Regions from separate parts of the Homo sapiens genome. Here region 1 is linked to region 2. Evidence: promoter capture Hi-C in 16 types of primary human blood cells and fetal thymus (Javierre and others, 2016). All regions are on one chromosome and are shown on one strand. The core of a region is centred on a gene start or on the middle of the fragment in contact, and the rest is flanking DNA. Distances in the headings are between cores, read along the strand shown. Region 1 overlaps ASCC3 (activating signal cointegrator 1 complex subunit 3). Region 2 holds the start of COQ3 (coenzyme Q3, methyltransferase).

Evidence for each region. Contacts are between HindIII fragments. The CHiCAGO score rates a contact against its expected background, and 5 or more counts as called.
Region 1: a contact is called between a fragment that was not itself captured here and the fragment with the promoter of COQ3 in region 2, in 1 of 17 cell types (activated CD4 T cells). The highest score is 6.3, in activated CD4 T cells.

Annotation. Positions count from the first base shown.
Region 1 is chr6:100,661,311-100,667,015 of GRCh38, forward strand. ASCC3 (activating signal cointegrator 1 complex subunit 3) reads right to left here. Exons shown (of 42, transcript NM_006828.4): 15 at 1,035-1,226; 16 at 496-720. Among named protein-coding and RNA genes, the nearest start is that of SIM1, 200 kb to the left of the region's middle. The HindIII fragment of the contact is 1,922 bases long and covers 2,833-4,754 here.
Region 2 is chr6:99,391,337-99,397,857 of GRCh38, forward strand. COQ3 (coenzyme Q3, methyltransferase) reads right to left here and starts at 2,859. Exons shown (of 7, transcript NM_017421.4): 1 at 2,738-2,859. The coding sequence starts at 2,843. RefSeq lists an enhancer at 2,115-2,754. The HindIII fragment of the contact is 4,880 bases long and covers 2,344-6,521 here.

The DNA.
Region 1 (5,705 bases), core at 2,544-5,043, 1.3 Mb after region 2:
TTAACACAAAAGTCACACACACACACACACACACACACACACACACACAAAACAAATGATCATAATCTAGCTCAATCACATTGTGTATAACAAAGTTAATCAACTGACCTAATAGAGCTAAAAGAGTTTTATAAATTTCATTAAACCTTTAGTAAAAATTTCATTTAAAACTTTGCAAAAGTGCCATACAAATATTAATTATTATTGCTATTTCTGTTTCCATATTTTCTATAGTCTTTGTTAGATTTCTGGTCTCTAGGAAAGCCTCATAGTTTAAAAGTATGGTCTTTTAACAATAGATTTTTATCAGTTATCATTCTATAATCCTCTGAATTAATCAACAATAATGCCATTCACCCTGTTTTGTCTTATAACTTATATGGCATAGGCTGTAATCCTAAACACTACAAAACAGCAACCAACTCAATCTTCATCTTTCTTGGTCATTCTTAAGGCTGATGATTCTATTCCAAACTTTTACTCATTAGATCTTACCTCTGCATTTAGGTTATCTGCAAGGCTTTCCAGAAACTGACTCTCAATTGGGTTTCGTTGAGTGAGCAAAGTGAGGTAATGGCTGAGTTTATCATGCGTTGTTATAATTATTCCTTCCCCAAATTTGTCAAATTGTGGTCGTCCAGCTCGACCAAATATCTGCATGACATCTAAAATTCCAAGGTCAACAAAGGAGCCTCTTTTTGCAGCATATATTTGTGTTCCCTAGATGAGGAAAAGTTAACAAAAATTTACATAAACACACACAAATATAATCCTGATGAACTGAATACTGAAATTAGGCAAATATGGCAAGATCTCAAAAGTGTACTTTAACTAATCCTTTCATCATCTGTGATAGAGTAAAATTTTCACAATATAAACTAGATTCTTATTGGAGAAAATAATTCTGACCTTTTATAAATAACATTCAAAGTCAAGGAAACAGCCAAATCACAATATTTTTCTATGTAAGTCAACCCAGAGCCTTGCTTTAAGACACACACAAAATCCATTTATCAAGGAAGGTAAGCTCTTACCTTAATAATAACAGCATGGGCGGGAAGATTGACACCCCAGGCTAACGTAGCTGTACACACTAGGACTTTGATATGCCCATTAGAAAACAAGTTTTCAACTAAATTTCTGTCCTGCCGAAGCATTCCTGCATGATGAATACTAAAACCATCTGGGAATAATTCTCGTACTTGCTTATTTCTCGACCTTTGTACCTAGATACCAAGAAAGCGTAAGAGTATTATTTAGCATTTAAAAGCAATTGTTTTTAGCATTTCTGTTGTATGAGTTCATCAAAGAAATCAGAAAATTATTTTTAAGCATCTTAAGGTATTACTAGGTCTTAGTATATAATGCTTTATATAAAATCATAAAAAATAATGTTACCTATCTTAAAAAATAGGTAATACCAAAATATATCACAAAATTCAAAAGGAAAGAGGTGAAAAGCAAGTGTCTCTTTCATCCAGATGTCCCTTTTTGCAATCAATCAGTATTACCTGTTTCTTAGCCTTCAAAATATACACTATTCAAAATAAAACTAAATCTCAGTGGCTTCTCAACTCCTTAAGAGTAAAGGCCAGAGTCATTACAATGCAAGACTATGGAAATCAATCTCATCCCCTTACCTCATCCACACTAGCCACAATGGCTGGCTTTTCTGAGTATATTTTCCAACAAGTCCATATCTGCTTCAGAGCCTTTACACTTTTACTTCAGACCCACTGCCTTTGAGGACTTCTCCCTTCTTATTGAGATCCCCATGATGCTTCCCCTATGATATTCCTCATTGCGATAAGTCAATAAACCCAGCTTTGTTCACCTACAGCTGTGTTCTTGGTGATCTTTGATAGCAAAGCATTGACCATCTGTTTTAGCTCCTCAACTATAGATGTGCATTGAGTATAGAGGAGTCCTTCCTTATCTGTAGTTTTGCTTTCTGTGGTTTCCATTACCTGAGGTCAACTGTGGTCCAAAAATATTAAGTAGAATATTCCAGAAATAAACAAATCATGTTTTAAGTTACATGCTCTTCTGAGTAGCATGATGAAATCTCACACTGTCCTATTCCATCCAGCCCAGAAAATGAATCGTCCCTTTGTCCAGCATATATAAGCTGTAGACATTTCTCACCCATTAGTCACTTAGTAGTAGGCTTGGTTATCAGATTGACTGTTTAAGTATCACAGTGTTTGCAAGTCACCCTTATTTTACTTAATAATGGCCCTGAAGCACAACATTAGTGATGCTGGCAACTTGAATTTGCCAGAGAGAAGCCATAAAGTGTTTCCTTTATGTGAAAAGGTGAAAGTTTTCAACTTAAGGGAATAAAAACGAAATTGTATGCTGAGGTTGCTAAAATCGATGGTAAGAGCAACAAATCTTCTAGTTGTGAAATTACAAAGAAGAAAACAGAAATTTGTGTTAGTTTTGCTGTTGCACCTCAAATTGCAAGTTACAGCTACAGTGTGATACATAGTTAAGATGAAAAAGGCTTTAAATTTGTGGGTGGAAGACACGAAAACAAAAACGCACTTAATTGACACCAATCAAGTTAGTTCACTAGTATCTGTGGTTTCATATCTTGGAAATATACCCCATGGATAAGGGGGGACTACTGTAATAATGTTACTTCTGGTTCTGTTCTTTGGCCTAATCTGAGCCCAGAGGTGAGATTTAGTATACTTATATGTCACCTGTGTAAGTGCTGTAGCAGAAGGTCTTAAAAGACTCACTGAAGATTCACTATACAATAGGCAGAATTTTTAAGAAAAATTAAAGACCTTAGATTAACATTTAAAGAAATGTTTATATAGTTAAAGCTTCTGTTTGGCCATCACATCATGTGTTTATTTGCTATTGGTCTCAAAATCTCATTATCAATTCATGAGCTTCTTTTTGAACAGTTTTTTCCCTACACTTTTTACTTAAGGGCTGGATAATGGCAGGGAGTAAGATTTCAGGGGACTGGGGTTCCATTCTAGACTTTGCCATACTGATTATCTCTCAGGTCACTTAAAATTTTAAACTTCTAAGTTAATAATATTTAACTAATAAAATTATCTAAGAAAATAGTATTCCATGAAATCTGCTTCAATTATAAAACCAAAAGTAATGCATTAACAAACCACACCATCTAGTGGCCAACCAAGTAAATAACAACTTACACATTTTGAGCCTCTTAAGGGTCCAAAACAAAATACATATATAAACATAACAAAAGAGGAGAGCTTCTTAAAGTTTCAAGGGGGGTGTATTCTTACTTTATTCTTATGCAGTGCAGTCAGCCTGTTAGAAATTATTTTATACATATACTTTAGGACTAATTACACTTGGATCTCATTGCCTCAGCTTTCATCTTTTCAGACAAGCAATATTGTTACTGTAATCTTAAAGCAGCTCTTATGAATATGGAAAAAAGTCCAATTGTGGTGTATTTGCTAAGAGCTCCTTCAGAGGCTAAAGGTAGGGAGAGGAGAAACATTTCACTTACTTCATTTCTTTTCTAATATTCAAGAGTGGATATTCAAAGCCAACAGAGGAAACTAAAACTATTGGTTGAAGGTGATATTCAAATCATATTGCTGGATTGCTGTTTGGTTTTAGGTTAAGTCTGCTTTCTGTGGGCTCCCTGCATTGAAATGTTCTGCTGTCCTTCTTACAAATAGATTCCTTAGTCAAACCCCATTTGAGGGAAGACATGGCTAGGACTGCTGTGGCACCAATGACACAGTAAGAAGTTAAACAAGGGAAGTATGTATCTGTGATAGAGATGTTTCTTATAAAGTAGCAGGTGGATCTTGGAGTACTGACATAGTACCTCCCACTTGATCACATGGGTTTCACATTCAACCAGCATCAGTGGCCAGTTTCACATTCAACCAGCGTCAGTGGCCACCAACTTGGTATATCTCTCTGGTCTCTGTGAGGAACTAGGAGGAGGTAGGAGTCACTTCTATTTCTATTCTTGCATACTCTGTGCATTTTTTTTATTGGTTCATTACAGACTTGAAGTGACAACAATCAAAGTAAGTCTGGGTTTTTTATTCTTAACTATCTTTGAATCTGAATTTTCCATCTGTGGTCTGCCTTAGCTCACAACAAAAATGAACTGGAATCTGGCCGGGCACAGTGGGTCATGCCTGTAATCCTAGCACTTTGGAAGGGTGAGGCAGGCAGATCACGAGGTCAGGAGATGAAGACCATCCTGGCTAACATGGTGAAACTCCGTCTCTACTAACAAAAACAAACAAACAAACAAAAAAAAAATAGCCGGGCATGGTGGCATGTGCCTGTAGTCCCAGTTACTCGGGAGGCTGAGGCAAGAGAATCACTTGAACCCAGGAGGTGGAGGCTGCAGTGAGCCGAGATCACATCACTGAACTCCAGCCTGGGCGACAGAGTGAGACTCTGTCTCAAAAAACAAAAAAAAAAGAAGAAAAAAAAATGAACTGGAATCCCTGGAGATGAGGCCCAGGGATGTTCCTCATGTGATTTTAAAAATCATCATAAAGCAAAACTATTTTTCCACTTTTAGTGTACACATCTAAGAATTTTAAGACATATTTGTGTTAGATTTGTGTAGCTACCATCATAATCAAGAGGAGTTTCTCCACCTTAAAAAAACCCCCTCATGCTATTTCTTTATAGTTAAACTCTTCGCAACTACTACCACTGTACTAATCTGTACTCCAACCCTATAGTTTTGTCTCTCCAAGACCACTATATAAATTGAGTCAGAAAGCTTATAAACTTTTGAAATTAGTTTCTGTCACCCAGATTAATGGCTTTGAGATTCATCTAAGTTGTTGCATATATCAATATCTCATTCCTTTTTATTGCTGAGTAGTATTCCACGGTACTACAGATGGGCACATTACAGTCTGTTAATCGGACCTCTCACTGAAGGACATGGGGGTTGTTTCCAGTTTTCACAATTATAAACAGAACATTTATAAACATTCATGTACACTTTTTTGTATATATTAATATGATTTCATTCCTCCAAAGTAAATACCAGGCATGAATCTTACGGGTCACATGGTTAATGTATGTTTACTTTTATAAAAATGCCAAAGCATTTCTGGAGAATTTTAACATTTTGCATTTGCATCAGCATTGTATAACAGTTCCAGTTGCTTCCCATACTTGCCAGCTTCCCATACATTATATAATTATTATTTTTTATTTTAGCAATTGTAACAGGTGTGTGGTAGTATCTTACCATGGTTTTAACATAAGTTTCCTTAACAGTTAATGATGTTAAACATCTTCCATGTTCTTGGATGTGCATATCTAATCAGCTCCTCAAGTGATTCTACTGCACACAAAAGTATAAGGAGCGAGTTTTTTACAGAAGGATATTTGCAATGATGTTTTTATCCACCTGTGTTATAATACAGCTGTACAATTTGACCTCATGAGACTATTTAGTGCTAAGCAACCTCGTATTTGTTATTGTACTAAATTATTTACATTCCTAAGAAGAGTACCTCCTAACAAATTTATGAAACATGATAGTCACTAACAGACAAAAAAAAAGCACTGTAAAGAATCAAAGAGAAGATCAATAAGAAACATGTATTTATCATATATTAGATCCTAGGAATTCAAAGAAATTTAAGACAAAATCTGAGCTTTGGATAATTTGCAGACTGGTAAGGAAGACAGACTCATATACAAGTGATTTCTAT
Region 2 (6,521 bases), core at 1,609-4,108:
CAAGCGATCCACCTGCCTCGACCTCCCAAAGTGCCGGGATTAAAGGTGCTCGGCCAGGCTTTTGTTCATTTTATTTCCCTTTCCACCAACTCTATCTGGACTACCTTTTAAGACCCAGTTCAAATATCACCTCCTGTATGACTTTAGGTAGATACATGAGATATTATTAAAGAATAAAGTTTAACTATGTAAACCATGATACATCGATAACGACATATAAGGTATTACTATTATGAAACTAAGCCTTAGAAATTTTAACAATATCTGCTTTTACGGACAGACAACCCTTGATCTCTCTCTTACCTCCTCTATTTCTGGAAAATGAATCCCTAAGTCATCAGTATTGCTACAATTCTCAAGAGGTTTAAAAATCATCTTAGGCCAGACGCAGTGGCTCAATGCCTGTAATCCCATCACTTTGGGAGACCAAGGTGGGCGGCCTGCTTGAGCCCAGGAGTTCAAGACCAGCCTGGACAATGTGGTGAAACCCCTTCTCTACTAAAAATATAAAAATTAGCCATGCATTGTGGTGCCTGCCTGTAGTCCCAGCTACTTGGGAGGCTGAGGTGGGAGGACCAATTGAGCCAGGGAGGCCAAGGCTGCCGTGAACTGTGGTCATGCCACTGCACTCTAACCTGGGATACAGAGCAAGACCTTTTCTCAAAAAAAAAAATTAATTAATCTAAAAAGTAAAAATAAAAACCACTCTACCACCTTACCACAACGGAAAGAGAGTAATTGAGTTTGTATTTAAACAGAATGCTACCAATTCCTTCTCTACCTTGAATCTGTGATCATCCTGGTATTTGAAATTTTAAAGGAATGGGAAAAGGTTTTTTTCATTTTATTTATTGAAAAGTCATTTATTCAGCACCTACCAGGCACCATGCTGATGGTGAATAAAACAGGTGACAGACTTTTACCCTACCAATACTTTATTTCCAGCAATGATAATTTACTGTCTGGATTGCTCTAAGGTCTTCCTGGGCCTAGACTTGCCTGACTCCATCCCACATTCTATGTAGACAGCTGCCAAGTGTTATTTCTTAAACATAAATCTGTTCATGTTGCTTCTTCAGTGATTTCCACTGTCCGCGGGATAGTCTACCTCAGGAGGTGTAAATGGCCTTTCATGAATGTGTCATGGCCAAAAAGGCCTCTTCCTCATCCCTTGCCACCCCCTGCCTTTACCTTCTGCCCTCCACCTACACACTTTACTTTTCAAGGAACCTTGCAGTTTCTCACAAACTTTCTCACAGATTCTCGAGCTGGTCCTTTCCCCTCTCCAACTGCTTTTTTTTTTTTTTGAGACAGAGTCTCACTCTGTTGCTCAGGCTGGAGTGCAATGGTGTGATCTTGGCTTACTGCAACCTCTGCCTCCCAGGTTCAAGCGATTCTCCTGCCTCAGCCTCCCGAGTAGCTGGGATTACAGGCGCCTGCCGCCACGCCCAGCTAATTTTGTATTTTTAGTAGATAGGGTTTCACCATGTTGGCCAGGCTGGTCTCGAACACTTGACCTCAAGTGAGCTGCCTGTCTCGACCAACTGCTTCTAAAACTGGCCACCTCCTTCAAGATTTCTCTAAATATCCCATTCAAGAAGTTTCCTTGATCCCAAATATGGATTAAATGCTCCTTCTATGTTCACCCCTCAAAAATTGGAACTAGGTTTATTATATCTTTTCTAAATTTTTGATTATAAAAGACACATGTTTACTAAAAAAAGTTCAGAAAAAGAAAAGTATATAAAGGATAAAATGATAGAAAATCACCTACTCTACCACAGGCAATCACTGCAAAATTTCTCTATATATCTCCACCTGTAACTCCAAGTTCACTATACATACTGATTTGTAACTTTTTTTTTTTTTTGGCTCCTTCCAGGAAACAATGAAACTTTACTTTCTTAACACTATATCTTACTACTTTTCCATGTGGGTACAAATAGATTTAAATCATTTTTATTGGCTGTACTATTTTTCACTGTATGATAGTACCAACTAATAACCTTTATTAATGGGCGGTTAGATTCCCCATTTTTTTGTTCATTATATCCTGATCTTAGGTTTATCCTAACATTTTTAAAGAGATCCTTGCGGTGTCATTCATTTTTAAATTCCCAGTGCTCATACCAGTGTCTGGCATACAGTATTTGTTAAGAGTTCCATGTGAAAGATGAGCTTAAGTTTCTACTTAATACTGAGAGTTCGAAAATCAGACTGCTGTCTACAAGCACTGAGCAGTGCATTATTTTCTTGATCTCATTTGCAAATGCAGTCTGTTGGATTAACCTATTAATCAAAAAGTAATACAGCTGCCTTAAATTCTTTCTGAAAAAAACAGCAAGCTTTGTGCAAACAAAACACAGATACAAAGCTATGCATAACTACGAGGCGTGAGTTATTCCTGCCCCGGCAAAGGAAAGATGCATGACCTTCAGACTGCAGCACACGCAGAGCGGGTCGCCGGCTCCTGGGGCAAGGAGCTCAGCCACAAGAGACCCGCGGCCTGCGCTTTTCCAGACAGGACCACTGGTCCTGAGCTCTTTTCCCCGGCGTCCGCCAACGGGACTATGCGAGGTTTACAATGGAGAGAGATGGGGCCAGGACCAAGCCTTAGGTTTCGCGCTGACCCCTCGCGAGGTCCAGAGACAACCCACCGCCCCACCCCCGGCGCATGCGCAGAGACGCCAGCGCTCGCAATTGACTGCATGCGAAGGACCTCCGCACACACACTCACCCGCCGAGGAAATTAAGGGACGCGCAGCTTTTGTATTACAGCCTCCAGGCCCCAGCACTCTTAAAAACCAACCCCCGGAGGAGCCCAGCTTACGGCCACTCCACATCGCGACAAACGATCCCACCTCTTTTCCGGTCCCTCCCGAAAAAAGATCCCCAACATAAAGGTTCCGAGATCACTTTCGCCGTCTGCAGCCGACTTTTTTTTTTTTTTTTTTTTTTAGCAGAGTCTGTTCTGTTGCCCAGGCTGGAGTACAGTCCCCATCTCGGATTCTGGGATCACTGCAATCTCCGCCGCCCGGGTTCAAGCGATTCTCCATGTTGGCTGGTCTCGAACTCCTGACCTCAGGTTATCCGCCCGCCTTGGCCTCCCAAAGGGCTGGGATTACAGGCGTGAGCCACCGCGCCCGGCCTGCAGCCGACTTTCATGATTGTATTGTTGAGTGTTATGTATGTATGGCTATACTTTCACGCTCATTTAGCAAATTGCACATGGAATTAAACTGCAAGATGTTTTTACTATCATAAACAACTTTGAAGATACTTTATTGCTATAGGACACCTCAAACCTCATGTTCGAAGTTGACCTCAATCAGGCCATTACTTCGTGCTGTGTCTTCTTTTATTGCCATGTAGCTCTATTTCACACTTAACAGATGTCTCTTCAAGGACTTTTATATTCCTGTAAGACATTGACCCTACTGCTAAGAATGCAAGAGTATGGGAGCACTTCTTCCTCAAGGGAAGAATTGTTTCCCCTTTCAAGGCACTCAAATATCAGATGGCCAGAAGGCCAAATGTAAAACTTATTTTCTGCAAATGACTATTATCTTGTACAGGGTATATACATCATGTAGTAGGAGGCTTCTGTGGCTCAGTCTAGGCAAACTTCATTTAGAGCTAGGAACAGTGATCAGTAACATTTTACGTCTAAATGCACAAAGTCTTTCTTTGGGTAAGAACAATGACGAATCTCCAACATTGAAGACAAAAAATTATTCTGTATTTTCAACAGGTAGGGTCAAATTGGTAAAGGGTTCTTTCAGTTAGCGAAATTTACCGCTCAGGAATCTTTTTTTTTCTTTTTTTTTTGAGACAGCCTCACTCGGTTGCTCAGGCTGGAGTGCAGTGGTAGGATCTCAGCTCATTGCAACCTCCGTCCCCCAGGCTCGGGTGATTCTTCGTGCCTCAGCCTCGTAAGTAGCTGGGATTACAGGTGTATGCTGCCATTCCCGGCTTAATTTTTGTATTTTCAGTCAGGGTTTCACCATGTTGGCCAGGCTGGTCTCAAGCTCCTGACCTCAGGTGATCTGCCTGCCTCAGCCTCCCAAAGTGCTGGGATTACAGGTGGGAGCCACCTCACCCAGACAGCAATAGTCTTTCATTCATGGTTCTTAGCTAAAATATTGACCTCCTCCTAAGGGTGGTCGCACTTTTCAGTTGCTATGTCCTCTTCAGAGCTCCTCTACCCTTAGATACATGATCCTCTCTCCACATGAAGGCAGAAAGCTCTGCACAAAAGAAAATGTAGCACGTCTTGTATTTATTGGAGTGACACATCCAAGGAAAAAGCAAAGTGCAAGCACAATTAAATAAAGTTCTAGGAGCTTTATATGTACTTTCTTTGAAGGTACCACACTTCACTGGGCTTCAGAGCCTTTCCACTACATTTTAACAAGAAGGGGAATCAATGATTTGCTTTATGCTGACAAGTATGTCTTTTGAACACCCAGAACAGGTCTGGCCCAAATAAGCAAAACTAGCTCATAGTATTTCTCGCTACAAACATCAACAAAGGGCTTTCCCAATGACCCTTAAGCCTAAGTGGTATTGGAAAGTTGTAATGGCTGTAATGCAGTATATGGCCATTGTTGGAGATATTTCCCCAGACTATTATTGTTATGGTCTCACCCGTAAGTCTGCGTATTTATTTTGCTCTAAAACTCTTAATGTCTGTTTTGTAATTCAACTTTATAAACATTTTTTTTTTCATCCAAGGGTAAAGTGCTCCCTTGTAGCTTTGAAATGATATACAGCTGGGCGTGGAGGCTGACACCTGTAATCCCAGCACCTTGGGAGGCTGAGGTGGGCGGATCACCTGAGGTCAGGAGTTCAAGACCAGCCTGGCCAACATGGTGAAACCCCATCTCTACTACAAAAAGTACAAAAACTAGCTGAGAGTGGTGATGGAATCCTGTAATCCCAGCTACTTGGGAGGTTGAGGCAGGAGAATCGCTTGAACAAGAGAGGTGGAGGTTGCAGTAAGCTGAGATCACGCCATTGCACTCTAGCCTGGGCAACAGAGCAAGACTGTGTCTCAAAAAAAAAAAAAAAAAAGAGATATACCACTACATCCACTCAGTTTAACTGGTAAGTTTTCACATTTACTTAAAAATTTTACATAAATTGGTAACTCAGAATAATTCTATCATAACTTCTACCAAAATCAGAATGTGGCAGATTTAACCAAGGTATCTTTAAAGGAACTCTATAGGTATCTGATAAACCTTTATGATATAAATATAACCCATGTGTGCTTTTTGAAGAGCTAAAGCCCATTTTCTCTTTTAAATTTTACACAACAAAATTCCACTTAAAACTGAAAAACTTAACAGCTAGATGTGTTTAGAACTAATCTAATTTGGCCAGGTGCGGTGGCATACACTTGCAATCCCAGCATGTTGGGAGGCCGAGGCAGGCGGATCACGAGGTCAAGACCATCCTGGCCAACATGAAACCCTGTCTCTATTAAAAATACGAAAATTAGCTGGGCATGTTGGCGCACACCTGTAGTCCCAGCTACTTGGGTGGCTGAGGCAGGAGAGTTGTCTGAACCTGGGAGGCGGAGGTTGCAGAGCCAAGATCATACCACTGCACTCCAGCCTGGTGACAGAGCGAGACTCCATCTCAAAAAAAAAAAAAAAAAAAATTCATCTAATTCCTCCCTTACACAGCTGAAGAAGTTAAGGCCCATGGTGATTTAGTGATTTGCCTAAAACACATCAAGAAACAGAGCCAGCTCAATCCAATGACTCTACTACTACTTCCATTTATGCAATCGGCTGGGAGCGGTGGCTCACGCCTGTAATCCCAGTACTTTGGGGGGCCAAGGCGGGTGGATCGCCTGAGGTCAGGAGTTCGAGACCAGCTGGCCAACATGGTGAAACCGTTTCTACTAAAAACACAAAAATTAGCCAGATGTGGTGGTGGGTGCTGTAATCCCAGCTACTCAGGAGGCTGAGGCAAGAGAATCACTTGAACCCAGGAGGCAGAGTTTGCAGTGAGCTGAGACTGCGCCACTACACTCCAGGCTGGGCAACAGAGAAAGACTCCATCTCAAAAAGCAAGAAACAGCAACTATGCAGTTGCTTAACTTGGGGACATGTGAGAAATGTGTCATTAGGTGATTTCATTGTGATGTGAACATCACAGAGTATACTTACATAAACCTAGATGGTATAGACTACTACACACCCAGGCTACATGGTATAGCCTTTTGCTCCTAGGCTACAAATACTATATTGAAAACTGTAGGCAACTGTAATATCATGGTTTTGTGTATTTAAACACAGAAAAGGTACAGTAAAAATACATTATAATCTTATGGGACCACTGTTGTACATGTGGCCCGTCATTGACTGAAACGTCGTTATGTGGTGTATGTCTGTACTCAGTACATTTTAGAAACTTCAGTAAATCAAAATACATTTAAATTTATGTAGGAGAAGAAAAACTCAGTTTAGATGTAAAGATTTCTGTAAGGCAACACTACAGAGACTGGAAAC